Linked DNA regions of Homo sapiens: regions 2, 3, 4 and 5 are each linked to region 1. Evidence: promoter capture Hi-C in 16 types of primary human blood cells and fetal thymus (Javierre and others, 2016). All regions are on one chromosome and are shown on one strand. The core of a region is centred on a gene start or on the middle of the fragment in contact, and the rest is flanking DNA. Distances in the headings are between cores, read along the strand shown. Region 1 holds the start of MND1 (meiotic nuclear divisions 1). Region 2 overlaps TMEM131L (transmembrane 131 like). Region 3 overlaps TMEM131L (transmembrane 131 like). Region 4 has its middle 43 kb from the start of TRIM2. Region 5 overlaps TMEM131L (transmembrane 131 like).

What was found. The method cuts DNA at HindIII sites, captures the fragments that hold promoters and counts their contacts. A CHiCAGO score of 5 or more calls a contact.
Region 2: a contact is called between a fragment that was not itself captured here and the fragment with the promoter of MND1 in region 1, in 15 of 17 cell types (naive CD8 T cells, activated CD4 T cells, naive CD4 T cells and 12 more). The highest score is 18.2, in naive CD8 T cells.
Region 3: a fragment that was not itself captured here is called in contact with the fragment with the promoter of MND1 in region 1 in 15 of 17 cell types (naive CD4 T cells, activated CD4 T cells, naive CD8 T cells and 12 more); the score reaches 19.8 in naive CD4 T cells.
Region 4: a fragment that was not itself captured here is called in contact with the fragment with the promoter of MND1 in region 1 in 1 of 17 cell types (endothelial precursors); the score reaches 6.0 in endothelial precursors.
Region 5: a contact is called between a fragment that was not itself captured here and the fragment with the promoter of MND1 in region 1, in 11 of 17 cell types (naive CD4 T cells, naive B cells, naive CD8 T cells and 8 more). The highest score is 11.6, in naive CD4 T cells.

Annotation. Positions count from the first base shown.
Region 1 is chr4:153,343,180-153,346,093 of GRCh38, reverse strand. MND1 (meiotic nuclear divisions 1) reads right to left here and starts at 1,406. Exons shown (of 8, transcript NM_032117.4): 1 at 1,354-1,406. The coding sequence starts at 1,356. RefSeq lists enhancers at 298-417, 498-557 and silencers at 1,038-1,197, 1,328-1,637. The HindIII fragment of the contact is 6,712 bases long and covers 80-2,914 here.
Region 2 is chr4:153,556,246-153,559,159 of GRCh38, reverse strand. It overlaps TMEM131L (transmembrane 131 like), which reads right to left. Exons shown (of 35, transcript NM_001131007.2): 6 at 2,078-2,194; 7 at 792-902. Among named protein-coding and RNA genes, the nearest start is that of TMEM131L, 91 kb to the right of the region's middle. The HindIII fragment of the contact is 7,356 bases long and covers 1-2,914 here.
Region 3 is chr4:153,538,556-153,541,469 of GRCh38, reverse strand. The region is part of intron 3 of TMEM131L (transmembrane 131 like); the gene reads right to left. The region is part of intron 1 of LOC105377498 (a long non-coding RNA gene); the gene reads left to right. Among named protein-coding and RNA genes, the nearest start is that of TMEM131L, 74 kb to the right of the region's middle. The HindIII fragment of the contact is 2,706 bases long and covers 24-2,729 here.
Region 4 is chr4:153,160,129-153,163,042 of GRCh38, reverse strand. It overlaps a transcript of TRIM2 not described here. Among named protein-coding and RNA genes, the nearest start is that of TRIM2, 43 kb to the left of the region's middle. The HindIII fragment of the contact is 747 bases long and covers 1,006-1,752 here.
Region 5 is chr4:153,514,633-153,517,546 of GRCh38, reverse strand. The region is part of intron 3 of TMEM131L (transmembrane 131 like); the gene reads right to left. Among named protein-coding and RNA genes, the nearest start is that of TMEM131L, 50 kb to the right of the region's middle. The HindIII fragment of the contact is 2,996 bases long and covers 1-2,889 here.

The sequences.
Region 1 (2,914 bases), core at 157-2,656:
CATATTAAAAAATAGGAAGTCCACATCTTATCAAAAGCTTTAATTTTTTAAAAGGATTCTCTATTATCGGAGGTAAGCTTCTAAAGAGTTAACACATTTAGTATTAGCAGGTGATTCATGTGTAGAGAGATAGATTAGGTAAAAGGACAACGCGCGTTTGAGCTGCACAGTTCTCCAAGTCAGTTATACGAGGCCAGCAACTCTGCAGAGAAAAATTGTAACACAGAAGGGCACTGCTAACAGATTTGTTTTAACTGTAGTCCTGTTTGGCTCCTTAGAGCACTTCACGCCCAGGTGGCTGGGTTGTTAGTTTAACCACAAAGAAGCCGTTATCATTTATAACTACATCTGGACAAATATCTTCAAATAAATACCATACAACTGGATCCTGGTGTCCCACCCTGCCCCCCTTAGCTCGGCAACATTTAACGGCCACGTAAGTAAATGAAGATATTAAAATCTTAGATCCATTTAACCAGATGTTGATTCTTCGCCAACTGAAGCAGAAAAAACGGCATGAAACTTTGAAGGTTTATGAAAATGATTTGATGAGCAGAAAGACGTTAAGCTCACAAAGCCGATCTTACCAGGACTTAACTGATCATGACCCACGAGGAAGCCTAATTCAGTGCAGAGCGTCCTTAAAAAAGCAACAGCGCCCTACACAACCAGCAGCACCCGGCACAAGAGCAGCGACTCCTGCCCTTTGGCAGAAACCGGGGCGTTTTCACAGAAATCGACTAATTGGCACACAGTGAAGATCCATTAGGTAACTCGAAACTGAGCAGTTCTGGAATGTGCTCTACATATTACAATACAGAAAACCACTCAATGGTGACAAACCAGGAGTGCGCTTTGGGATCAAGACGTTCGCTCCCCGCAGTCCCTCCCGCCCACTTGCGCTTTCTCTCCCCGTTCTTAATGGGGGGGGCTACACCACGCGGGGCCGAAGCTGGAGGCGTAGGGAGCCCAGGTTCTCAAGGGCCCCGTGGTCTTTTAGATAAATCCAGGTTGGTGAAGTTCTCGGGTCACGTTCGCGAACGCTTCCCGCGTTCTAACCTAACCCGCCCGAACGGGCCCTGGGGACAGACGCGGGGTGCAGCCGGCGGGGAGGCCGCGGATGCCCCCGCGCCTCGGGACTCCGGACAGGAGCGGCGGGGAACGCCGCAGAGTGCGGAGTGGCTGCGGCGGGGCCGGGCTGGGCCCCTACACGGTGAGGCCGAGAGCCGGGCGACCGCTCCCGCGGCCCGGAATGGCGGTCAACGCCAGGCCGGGATCCACATGCAGCCGAGGGGCGGCGAAGCCCACACACTAGGGAGGAAGAAGACGCGGGACCGTAGCCTCAGTCCTTACCATGGCGCGGGCGCAGGGGCTTCCGCTGGCCGGGCCCGCGCTTGGGGAGAGGGGCGGGACAGGCCAGGACGCGTTTGATTTTGGCGCCGACTACGCCGCGGGGGCGGAGCAGCGAGACGGTGGAGGTGGGGGAAAGAGGCCGGTCCTCGCCCGCGCGGCGCGCAGCGACCCCTAGCGACCCATCCGAGCCGCCGGCGGGGGAAGGGGCGCGGGCCTGGGGCCGGGGCTGTGGGGAGCGTGTCCGCGTCTCAGTGGACGGGTTGCAGAGCTGCCTCCGTCTCCTCGGTATTCTGTGAATGTGACCTTTTTTTTTTTTAAGGACATCTTGCCTTTGCTTTTACTGCGTTTTCTTGGCGCCGCAGAAATATGGCCTAAGTTTGGATGTAAAAAATAGAGGCGTTTAGGCTGTTGAGGAAGGAAACGCTGCCTCCATCCTTCCGGACTTGTCCTGTCTGGGGCGGACTGGATTCCTTTCTCGTCTTCTAATCTGACCCCTCATCTTCTCCCGAGCCGCTACCCACTGCTTTCCAGCTTTTCAAATCCTGTGTATGTCTGTTTGTTTTTCCCTTAGGTTTTAAAAAAGAAGGAAACAACGGAATGAATTTCAAATCAACATGGTCAAAAATACGCTACTTCATGGCTTGAGAATAGATCCAGATTCATAGCAAAAGCTCAGGCCCCTGAAAGTGCTGAAAAATTTTAACTCAGAATTCAATTATTTTGAAAATTATTCTATGGTGTTTTGAACCATTTTTAGGTGTAAGAAGTACGGTTGGGCGCTGTGGCTCACACCTGTAATCCCAGCAATTTGGGAGGCCGAGGCGGGCAAATCACTTGAGGTAGGGAGTTTGAGACCAGCCTGGCCAACATGGTGAAATCCCATCTCTAATAAAAATACAAAAATTAGCCAGGCGTGGTGGCGGACGCCTGTACAATCCCAGCTACTCGGGAGGCTGAGGCAGGAGAATCGCTTGGACCCAGGAGGCAGAGGTTGCAGTGAGCCAAGACCCCGCCACTGCACTCCAGCCTGGGCGACAGAGTGAGACTCTGTAACACACACACACGCACGCACACACACACACACACACACACACAGTGTAGTAAGTCTTGTAGATGCTATAAGAGTAGCATCTAAAGTTGGAATTTATGTCCCCTGTTGCTTCTGCTGGAGGCAGAGGAAGGGGTACATTGAATTGCAGAGTTCCATTAATTTGGTTTTTCCTGTAAGAGTTATACCATGTAACTGATGGTACATAAGGTAATTTTAAAATGATAAATGAGTACATTAAGTAACTACAGTAGTGGTATATACATTTGTGCTACTTGGGGAAAGCCTTGTCTTAATTGGCTCTCAGGCTTGTTGCAGGTGAGTGGTGACTATCTGAGGCCAGTGGCGCTGTGGCAGAAAAATTTACCAAGGCAGTTGTAAGTAAAGAAAGGCAGAATCATTAGAGAAAGCATGAAAATACGTTGCAAGGGAGCAATGGGCAGAATCAGCAGAAAAGGAGCTGACTGCAAGGAAACAAAGGCTTGCTGGGGATTTTATAGAATAGTGCTTATG
Region 2 (2,914 bases), core at 130-2,629, 210 kb before region 1:
TCTAGACCAAGGCCTGGCACAAAGCAGAGGCTCAGGAAAACCGCTGAATGAATGAAAGCCCCAGGTACTAATGGTACTGACTACAAATTCTAAGCAATGTTCTTTATTTACCAATCAGAAAGAAGAGGTAAGTTTCATAATATATTGGTTCAAGAGCTTTTCTCAATTATAAAATTATCCAGTTACAAGGAAATATGGATAATCAAAGGGAAAAAGTAGCCAACCCTATAAAATGATTCATGAAATGTATATTAAAAGAATTTAAACTTATCATTATACATCTACTATAACATCAGAAATAGTTCTTCCCACCAAGCCCCATCCGGGCAGGGCTAAAAGCAGGACATCCTTAGGGGCCTGTTATTACTTGTGACCATGGGGGCTGCCTCCCTGAAAAGCAAGCTGGTAAGATTTAACAAGCTCTACAAAATCGTTCACAGTCTTTAACTAAAGAATCTCTCCTCTTTATGAAACATGCCCCAAGGAAACAGAGGATTCAGAAGGAAAATTAAAGAAACTTATAAAATAGGTATATGGCCTAACGGTAATAACAGTGAAAAACAGGAAACATTTCAAAAGACCAACAATAAGATTAAGCAAACTCTGGAATATCAACACTGTGAACTCCACAGCCATTAAAAAGAAGTTAGGTGGAATCCACTGATATTTTATATATGTATATTACTTCTATATAATTTTTTCAAAAAGCAGAAAATAGTAAAATAACCAATTCTGAGAAGGTTACAAAGTTTGGTGGCCACCAGCATTCAAAGTAAATCTATTAAAATGACCTGCATTTGAGACAGCTGAATGCTCTGGACCTTTGGAAGCAGAAAATAAGCATTTGGTAGCTGCTTTGCAGACCCTTCTGTAGAGATTCTACGAGTGCCAATTCCAGATACCTGCGGAAAAAGAGAGAGAATTGCTCCTCTGTTAAGAGTTTTAAAACACATTTGCCATAATGCTAAAGCACGTCTCCAAAGGAAATCTGTATTCATCAGCATGGCCTTCAAGACTCTACTAATCCAATTATTTTATTTATCTTTGTCTACAAAAAACACAATGAATGTTTCAGAAATGCAGAATGCTGGCTGAGCACGGTGGCTCACGCCTGTAATCCCAACACTTTGGGAGGCCCAGGGAGGTGGATCATTTGAGGACAGGAGTTTGAGACCAGCCTGGCCAACATGGTGAAAGCCTGTTTCTGCTAAAAATACAAAAATTAGCCAGGCAGTGGTGGGAGGCTGAGGCAGGAGAATCGCTTGTGCCTGGGAGGTGGCTGCAGTCAGCCTGATCACACCACTGCACTCCAGCCTGGGCAACAAAGTGAGACCCTGCCTCAAAAACTAAAAAATAAAAAATGAAACAGATTAGAATGCTGTATTTAAGCTGAATGTTCCTCACTGTAGCAAATCTGTTCACAAGTAGGCAACTCTTCTGATATGGGACCTCTTTAATGGAATCCAGTAAGAAATAACCACAAAAATTACTGATCTTGGAACTTAAATTACTTGATGCCAGATCTTGTTAAATGCCATATCAGGTACCATTTAAGGTAAAGATTCCTATTTCTGAGAATAGCAACAAGATTCTTCAAGCTCCCTTCCTGGTACCTTGATATGAATAGTGAGCTCCCTTGGAACCAGCCTCCAAGCACACAATCAATGTCTCCTAATTAGAAATATTCCTGAGCCAAAGAGGGAAGGTAGGCAAAATCACTAGAGACTGTCCTTAGAGCACCTCCTTCTGAACGCCCGTGAGGTGAGAGCCATGAGTTTTGAAAGCCTTCTGTATTTTATGATGGGAAACTGTGTGACAGATTGCTTTGCTTTGTTCTAGTATCCTCCAAAGACCCACAGTAGGACTATAGCTCCGTCATCAGTAGGAAAGCCAGCCAACTGTGGCATGTCAGGCAGAAAAGGGTGAATGCTGATGATTTTAACATCACTAACAGTCTTGTATTTTAACGACATAAACCAGGTGACAACATTTCCAAAAGTCTTTTTAAAAATATACACACACACCCCTACAGTTAAGTCACCAACCAAAGTTGTGACAAAAGGAAAAAGTTACTCACATGATAGGAAAGGACTCCATACGAAGAGGTATTAATAAATAAGGAACTTTCAATGCTTCCTTCTTCAGTAGGTAAGAAAATAATTCTGAAGGAAGTTTTCCCCATTGCTGGAATTACCTGAAAGAAAGGTCCCCAGTCAGCCACTTGGAATGGCCTCCTTTGATAAACTGTCTTTCACAGACTTTCTTTTTTTGACAATTTCTGTTAACAGACATTTGTATATTGTGCACCCTTATCAGTATTATGAATCCCTAAGAATCCCCAAACTGATCAGCATCCAATTATCTGCTCTTAGATATAGCAAATATTACCACTAACTTAGGATGAATCCTTTCGCTTCAGACTGGAGCTGTGAGTCTCACATCTTTCCTTCCCCTCCTCTTCCACCTCCACAGGTCCAACTGTCTTTAGCTAACACAGTTCTATCTCTACTTAAATATAGACAATAACCAACGTGCAAACATGTTGATATGTAATAAAAATCAGGAACAACGTTTACCCAGACAGACTGTCATAAACCAAATATTGGGCTTCCCCTTACAACATATCCTTAGTCCTAGTTTTTTTTTTAAGTACATAATATCAGGCAGACATAGTAAGCAAAATAAATAAAAGCCTACTAGCAATTAGGATCTTCACTAAATGTTAAAGACCACTGAAATTAAAACTATTAGAAGACTAAGTTTGAGCTCTGTGTTATGGTGCCAATCAGCTTTACAAGGAGCCATTCACTATACCTTGCAGTTCTGGATTTAGAAAGGAGACCTAACTTTCCTAGTAGGCTTGAGAGATGGAAGAGGTCTCAACCATAAACTTGTATTAGTTACTAAATGCCTC
Region 3 (2,914 bases), core at 127-2,626, 200 kb before region 1:
GCCTACCTGCCCAGCTGAAAGCTTTGTTGATACCCTGACTCTTGTGTCTTCCATAACTCCATGTGCAACCAAAGAAATCTGTCCCTCACCCCCACATTCCATGAGGACCAAAAGGCATTTTCTCTCCAATTCAAAGAATTTTAAAATACATTATTATATTTACATATTTACTCTTACCACATTCCACATACTATAAAGATCTACTTTAGCCAACTAGTTAAAGGACTTTGCAAAACCCTATTAAAGAATAGGCCAGCAATTAAGCTCACATTTCCCCAACTCCCATCCCAACTTTCTCCTTACTCCAACTCCCATTCCAACTTTCTCCTTACTTTCATGGCTTCTCCTCTGTGGTTTAAAGATTTGACATCTTTCCTAGACGCTAGGGTAGGTCACTCTACTATATGTTAAAATAATGAAATGTGATTATAACATCTGCAAAATACAAAATACATTTTGCATTACCTTTCAGCTCTAGGACAAGTTAGCACGAACATTCAGTATTAGATACCTCCAGCATTAACAGAGTTTGCCAGACACTATACATAAAAAAAAGAAGCCAAAGCAGAAATTCACACGAACCCTAAGCAGATAAGGGAGTCTAGGGATGAAGGACTTTTTCCTCTTTGATCATGGGTGGACAATGCAAGCTCATGCATTACCGTGCATGTTATTTTTAGAAAACCAACCGTGAGTTCTCAAAGTGTCCATAAAAATTTAAGTTATTAGTTTCCTAAAGGTGCACTAGCCACGTTTTAAAGCTCATCTATAACACTTTAAGCAACTTGGTAGCTGAACTTATTCATACTGTAAAGGCAGACATGCCAAATCCCACCAACATTCATTTCTTCTATCTACCCAAGGCAGTTAGATTCAGAAATCCCCAAAGGCAAATAAAAACAGGCTGCCTAACTTTCACAGGCTCACAGTGTTATGTATGTATCACACACCTCCTACAATACATAACACATATGATACAAGGGAGAGCACAGTCCACAGTACTTTAAGTATCCACAAGAGGAAGAGATCACCTGGCGTGGAATAGGTTAGGAAATGCCTTTTGGAAGAGGTGGCATTTGAGTAGGATCTAGAAGGCTGAACGTGCTGTCTTCAGGTAAGGCTGGAGGAAGAGTTTTAACGAAGTGAAAAAACACAAGTTAAGGCATACAGATCACAGAAAGGCTGATAAGATAAAAAGTGAAGTACAAAAGATAATTAATTTCTAGAGTTTCTCAGTAGGACCGAAGAACAATCCTATGTAACTTTATGACCCGGAATAATATTTTACTAAAACACACTGAACTGACAGATGTTTTTTGTTTTGGGGTTTTTTTTTTTGTTTTTTTGTTTTTATTTTTGAGACAAAGTTTCACTCTTGTTGCCCAGGCTGGAGGGCAGTGGCGCGATCTCAGCTCACTGCAACCTCCGCCTCCCGGGTTCAAGCAATTCTCCTGCCTCAGCCTTCCCCAGTAGCTGGGATTACAGGCACCCGCCACCATGCCCGGCTAATTTTGTATTTTTAGTAGAGACGGGGTTTCTCCACGTTGGTCAGGCTGGTCTGGAACTCTCAACCTCAGGGGATCCGCCTGCCTCGGCCTCCCATAGTGCTGGAATTACAGGCGTAAGCCACCGTGCCCGGCCCTGACAGGTGTTTTTTTTTTAAAGTCCCAATATGAGCAAATATCTCAAAATGATCTTCAGACAAATACAAAGAATGTTAACAAGATTGCCAGAAAAATCTAATGAAAAATTTCTAACTATTCTTTGAAGGACCAGCCTCATGAGTAAAGGAGCCGGCAGGAGCAAGGGAGCCTCCTGCTTCACAGCAGCTGTTACAGTCGAGCACAATACTAACATGTATATCAGTGTTTCACTCCACCAGGGCCCAGTCCCATCTCTCAGAATACCCAGACAATATGTCATTATTCAAAAAGTTAAGTCTTCTCTCCTCAAAAAAAAAAAAAAAAAAAAAAAAAATCTAGCCTCTGAACATAATGTTTTTAAAACGGAATGCAGCAGAAACCTTTTTAATTGAAGTTTCATGCTGTCCATTCAGCAGACTAGCATAGACCACACACTTGCCCATAAAGTATAATTTACTATCACCAAGCTCACTTATATAATATAACCCCACTGTCAGAGGAGGACTTTAAAAACGATTTTTCTTATATGAAACCCAACAAACACTGGCACTGGAGAAACCAGTCTAGAGTGTGCCCAGAAAAACAAGGACTCCTTAACACAAGTCAGAGGACTGCTGGGTGTTTGTTTTGTTGGGTTTTTTTCCGCCTCCCCCCCTTTTGGGGGAGGTATGTGACTTAAACATATGTTGTATGAAAAGCAATTTTTCCTTGAGAAATAATGGTAAAGATCTCACTGTTTCTTTCCCAAGGTTCTGTGACAGAGGTTGCTCTTTGGCCCCTAATATCCCCCCTTCTCGTCTTCTTTCACATAATGGAATTTTTAAGTGGGCATATTTCCAAGGCTTCTCTGCATCTGGGTACGGCCACGGGACTAAGTTCCAGCAAATGGGGTGAAAGCCGAAGTATCGCGCCGGCAGTTTCCAAACTGCTGCCAGGAAAACAAACGTCTCCACCTTGTCCCACGAGTAGGAGATCCCAGTACCCTGGGGAAGGCGACGTGGGGTCCCTAAAGACTTCCTGGAGCCAGCGGCTGCATATCTGCAGACTCTCTCAGGAGAGAGAAAACACTCTCTTAAGATGTAAGCTTTAATTCTAACTGGAACAGCTTCCCATTCTTTTCCAACACCAGAAATTGCCAGCAGCAGCTGCTCAGCGGAACTAATACTACATGGCCTCATCACTCCAGCCCCTGCTTGCCCTGAGGGAGGCGGGTTTTTCAGCAGTGCCAGCCTTTCAGGGCGGCCAGAAGCAGAGCATCCCAATAAACCAGA
Region 4 (2,914 bases), core at 130-2,629, 180 kb after region 1:
TTTTCCCACAAATTCTTAGAAAAACTAGGGTCTTACATGATAGGATTCCACTTCCAAAAAATCTTACCTCTTAGAAAGACACCCTTTTCACCCTCAGTTCTGGAGAGCATGGTCCATGTCCCAACCTGTTTCTTTAATTCACATAATTCAGTGGTAACTGATCACTTGGACACAAGTGGCCACATGAGAATTCCCCTCAGGTGGCATCTTGGGTTCAAGCCCTATAGTCTGTTGGTGCTGCCTCACTGGAAAGAAGAGCTCTTCCTATTACTGAGGTGTGGTATAACTCAAGGCTACAACAGAGGCCAATGCCTGAAGTCCACTTGCTCTGCCACAGTTCAGAAACTACTGTTTCTTATTTACTCATTCACTCATTGTAATGGCTAATTTTATGTGTCTATGTGCCTGAGCCATGCAGTGCCCAGATATTTGGTCAAACATTATTCTGGGTATTTCTATGGGGGTCTTTTTGCCTGAGATTAGCGTTTTCATCAGTAAAGAAGATTGCCCTCCATAATGTGGGTGGATCTTATTTAACTAATGCAGGTGTCACTAGAACAAAAGGATGAATGCTTTCCTGTGTAAGAGAGAACTTTCCAGCAGATGGTCTGTGGACTTCAGCTGAAGCATCAGCTCTTTCTGACTGAAGGCCTTGGAATTGGAACTCTGGCTTTCCTTGGGTCTCTAGCATGCTGCCCCATCCTACAGATTGGACTTGTCTATCTCCATAATCATATGAGCCAATTCCTTATAATAAATCTCTGTATATATCAATATCCATATCATCTATATCTATATCATCTATATATCTATATGTATATATTTCCCACTGGTTCTGTTTTTCTGGAGAACCCTGATACACTCAATCCAAACAAGTATTTCTTGAAGATGTACTATATGCCAAGCAGTAAGCTAAATGACTAAATGCCAGAATAAAGAGTTAAAACTACAGTCCTTACCCTTGAAAGTTTAGAAATTTGGCAAGAATGCAGACAACAGAAAGCTTTTCCTTAAAGTAAGCTGGCCAAATTGGTCCCACGCAGAGAGAATGTACACACGAATTTCATTTCGGAGGTTTATGCTTAATCATAATCAGAGTCTGGCCATATTTGCTTAAGCACTCATTTTTTTCTAGTGGATGGAAGTTTCCAGTGAAATATTGCAACTTTATGTTCCCTAATAAGTTAGCTGCAGAGGACAATTGTACATTGATTTGCTCTTGATCCATGGAGCAATCCTTGCTAATGCTTTTGTGTGAGTCTTAGACATAATTGACCACCTTGGAATACTGCCCAATATTCAGTCATCTAGGAAATTTGTTGGACCTGCCTTGTAGCAGTTGGCCTGTGAGAACCAAAGGATACAAAGAAAACTAATAAGTGTACTAGCGTTGTCTGTGAGAGTTCTTTGAGCACGAAGCACTCACTAAGCAGGGAACTCCAAGGGGAGCAGAATATTCCCAAGGATTCTGCTGTGCATCATGTCATATGCAGAGTATATCAGGAAAAGCAACGGCTTTAAATTCAGACAGACATGACTCCAACTCCTGCACCTGCTTTTTAACAGCTAGCGACTTTGCAAATGTACTCAATCTCTCTAAGTCTCAGTTTTCTCATCTCTAAAACGAGGATAATAACTTTTCATAGGATAACTGTTAAGGCTGAATGGGATCATGCATGCACAGTGACAAGAATGATGCCTACCATATAGCACGTACGTTCAATTCATGGAGGTTCTTTCTAGCACAAAGCTTTTGTGTATATTTGATTCATCTCTGTGCTTGTAAAAGCAGTAGGGGCTGGTTATAAACATTTGCTTGCAAAGTGTTTCTGTATAAATACAGTCTCCATCTCAAAATTTAGTATTACGTTCTTAGAACAAACAAGCTATTTTAGTTTAAAGTACAACAAAATCTTTGTTCCTTAGAATACTAGAGAATGAGCAGTAAATGGGTGTCCAAAGAGGCTGGCCAATGAAGAGTTAATCACTTTGGCAAGATGAGCATGCCTAGTCTTCCTCTCCCTCCCAGGGAAACATAAAAATCAATTGAAAGAACAGAAATTGAAGTCATTATTGTTTGTGAGCCAGAGAGCTAGCTCCCAACCCTCCCCTCCCCTTTTTAAAAATGAAGCCTGGCCAGGCATGGTGGCTCACGCCTGTAACTGCAGCACTTCGGGAGGCTAAAGCAGGAGGCTCAGATCACTTCGGCCCAGGAGTTTGAGATCAGCCCCGGGCAACATACAGAGACCCTTGTCTCTATGAAAAAAATAAATTTTAAAAATTAGCCAGGTGTGGTGGTGCATGCCTATAGTCCCAGCTACTTGGGAGGCTGAAGTATAAGGATCGCTTGAGCCTGAGAGGTTGAGGCTGCAGTGAGCCATGATCACATTACTGTACTCCAGCTTGGGCAACAGGGTGGGAACCTTGTCTCCAAACAAACAAACAAACAAACATCCCTTGAAGCCTAGATGGCCAGCATGGTGGCTCATGCCTATAATCCCAGCACTTTGGGAGGCTGAAGTGGGAGGATGCCTTGAGGCCAGGAGTTCAAGATCAGCCTGGACAACACAGTGAGTCCCCATCTCTTTAAAATGAGGCCTGGAAAACTCTAAAAATCCCAGTAGTAGCTCACAAGACTTATTTGTTTCCTTTGGAGAAGCTAATGAGATTGGTGATTTTTGCTCGCCTGTCTCAAAAGCGCTTATTTCTAGAACCTTGAAGCTTTGTTGAATCTCCGATTCATCTTTGTGCTTGTAAAAGCAGTAGAAAAGTGTTAGATAACACAGCTTACTCTACTCAATTATAATGCTTAACAAAGACTAACTTAAGGGAATTAAGGAAAGGGGAGAGGGAAAGCAGGGGAAATTTTCAGAGAAATATTTCGCTTAGAAGGTCATAAAAAGATGGTTCAAAA
Region 5 (2,914 bases), core at 142-2,641, 170 kb before region 1:
AGGGCAGATCCAGGTTTTATGGAGCTCTGAAACTTATGTGAGAGGGCAAAGTGGAGTATTTTAAAGGAAAAAAAAATACACACTATATATTACTTCTGAAGACTTAATAAAAAACACAGTCATGTAAAAACATTCCTAGGAACCCGCCCAGGGCCTTGTAAAGGACCCGTGCAAGGGAGGATGAGAGAACATGTCTGTGCCTGTGCAGTTGAGGGAAGAGGTGGGAAATGCTTCCTAGATTAAGGGATGTCCCAGCAGAGGTCTGGAGGCGGCACAGGAAGTGATCTCCAGGCATAGCAAATAAGTCCAATGGTGGAAACAAAGGAAACTTCAACCAACTTCATCTTCATAAGTACATGCAAACTAAAAGAAGTATATAATACCAATTTGGACCTCTTAGATTAAAATTTAAAAGATGAGCTGGCCAGGCGTGGTGGCTCACGCCTGTAATCCCAGCACTCCGGGAGGCCGAGGTGGGTGGATCATGAGGTCAGGAGTTTGAGACCAGCCTGGCCAACACGGTGAAACCCCATCTCTACTAAAAATACAAAAATTAGCCAGGCATGGTGGCGCGCACCTGTAATCCCAGCTACTCAGGAGCCTGAGGCAGGAGAATCGTTGGAACCCGGGATGCGGAGGTTGCAGTGAGCCAAGATCGCCCCCACTGCACTCCAGCCTAAGTGACGGAGCAAGACTCCGTCTCAAAAGAATAATAATAATAAATAAATAAAATTTAAAAGATGAACAAAAAGTACTGGTACCTAGTGCTGGGAGGCTCGTAAGAAACTGACAATCTCAAGACATTAGCATAAGGGTATAACTGAAACAACCTTTCTGGAGGGCAAGTACAGAATATTTTTCAAAGGCCTTGAAGCATGCCCACTTTTTGACCCAGCAATTCCAGTTCTAGTAATGTATCCTAAAGAAATGATTGCACAAGCATTCAAATGTAGATATAGCCTGGTGGGGTTTTCTTTCCTTTTAAATAAACTTCACGTATAAAGAATTCGATTTTAGGGCTAGGCACAGTGGCTCACATCTGTAATCCCAGCACTTTGGGAGGCTGAGGCAGGTGAATTGTTTGAGCCCAGGATTTCAAGACGAGCCTGGGTAATATGGCGAAACCCTGTCTCTAAAAAATATATAACAATTAGCCCGGCACAGTGGTGCATGCCTCTAGTTTCAGCTACTTGGGAGGCTGAGGTGGGAGGATCGCTTGAGCCTGGGAGGTGGAAGCTGCAGTGAGCCAAGATCTTGCCACTGCAATCCAGCCTGGGTGAAAAAACAAAGAATTAGATTTTAAAATTATAGAACATTCATATAATGAACTATAAGGCAGTCAGTAAAACTGATGTACTTAGATATAGACATGGGAAGATTATTAAGTTTAAAAAGCAACTTACAAAATTGTCATTTAATCTCATTTAAAAATATATAAAAATAACATACCATTTATAGTACATGACTCAAAAATAAAAATACAATTAATCTAACGTAAAAATGGGCAAAGGATTTGAGCTGAGACCAGTGGCTCACGTCTATAATCCCAACGCTGTGTGAGGTCAAGATGGGAGGATCACTTGAGATCAGCCTGGGCAACACAGTGAGACCCTATCTTTAAAAAAAAAAAAAAATGGGCAGAGGATTTGAACAGACATTTCTCCAAAGAATATATACAAATGGTCAATGAGCACATAGAAAAGAGGCTCAACATGATTAGAAAAATGCAAATCAAAACAATGATACCACATCGCACCCTCTAGAAGGGCTATAATAAACTCATCTATTAACTGTTGGTTGGTGAGAATGTAGAAAAATTGCAACTATCATACTTTACCTGTAGAAAAGTCATGTATGAAAAGTAAGGTATGGTACAACTACTTTGGAAAACAATTTGGCAGTTCCTCAAAATGGAACACATAAAGTTACCATATAAACCAGCAATACCACTCGTAGATATATAACCAATAGAATTGAAAACATACGTCCACACAAACACTTGCACACAAATGTTCACAGCATTATTCATAATAGCCAATAATTGGAAACAATCCAAATGTACAAATGATGAATAAAATGTGATCTATCTATACAATGGAATATTGTTTGGCAGCAGAAAGGAATAAAGTATTGTTACATGCCATGTGGTAAACCCCGAAAACATTAAGCTAAATAGAAGTCAGTCAAAAAAGGCCACATGCTACATGATTCTATTTATATGAAATATTCAGAACAGGCAAATTTATAGAGACAGAAAGTAGATTAGAGGTTGTCAGGGGAATGGAGTGGTGGCCAGGGGCAGGAAGTGACTGCTTGATGGGAGTGGTGTTTTCTAATAAGTTGATGAAAATTTCTGAAATTCGATAGCAGTGATAGTTGCAAAACTATGAATATATTAAAAACCACTGAATTGTATGCTTTAAAAGGGTGAAGTAGGCTGAGCACGGTGGCTAATGCCTGCAATCCCAGCACTTCGGGAGGCCGAGGCAGGTGGATCACCTGAGGTCGGGAGTTCGAGACCAGCCTGGCCAACATGGGGAGACCCCTGTCTCTACTAAAAATACAAAATAAGCCGAGTGTGGTGGCAGGCGCCTATAATCCCAGCTATCCGGGAGGCCGAGGCAGAGAATTGCTTGAACCCAGGAGGCGGAAGTTGCAGTGAGCCACGATTGCGTCACCACACTCCAGCCTGGGGGACAGAGCGAGACTCCATCTCAAAAAAAAAAGAAAAGAAAAAAACAGGGTGAAGTAATGTGAATGTGGGATTCTATGAAGTGTAAATTCTATCTCAATAAAGCTGTTATTTTTTATTTTTCTTCTTTATATTTTATAGTATTTTCTTTACAAAAAAATTTTTAACAGGCATTACACTTACCAGCTAGACAAGCTTGAATGAGTACTAACTTTGGTTTCC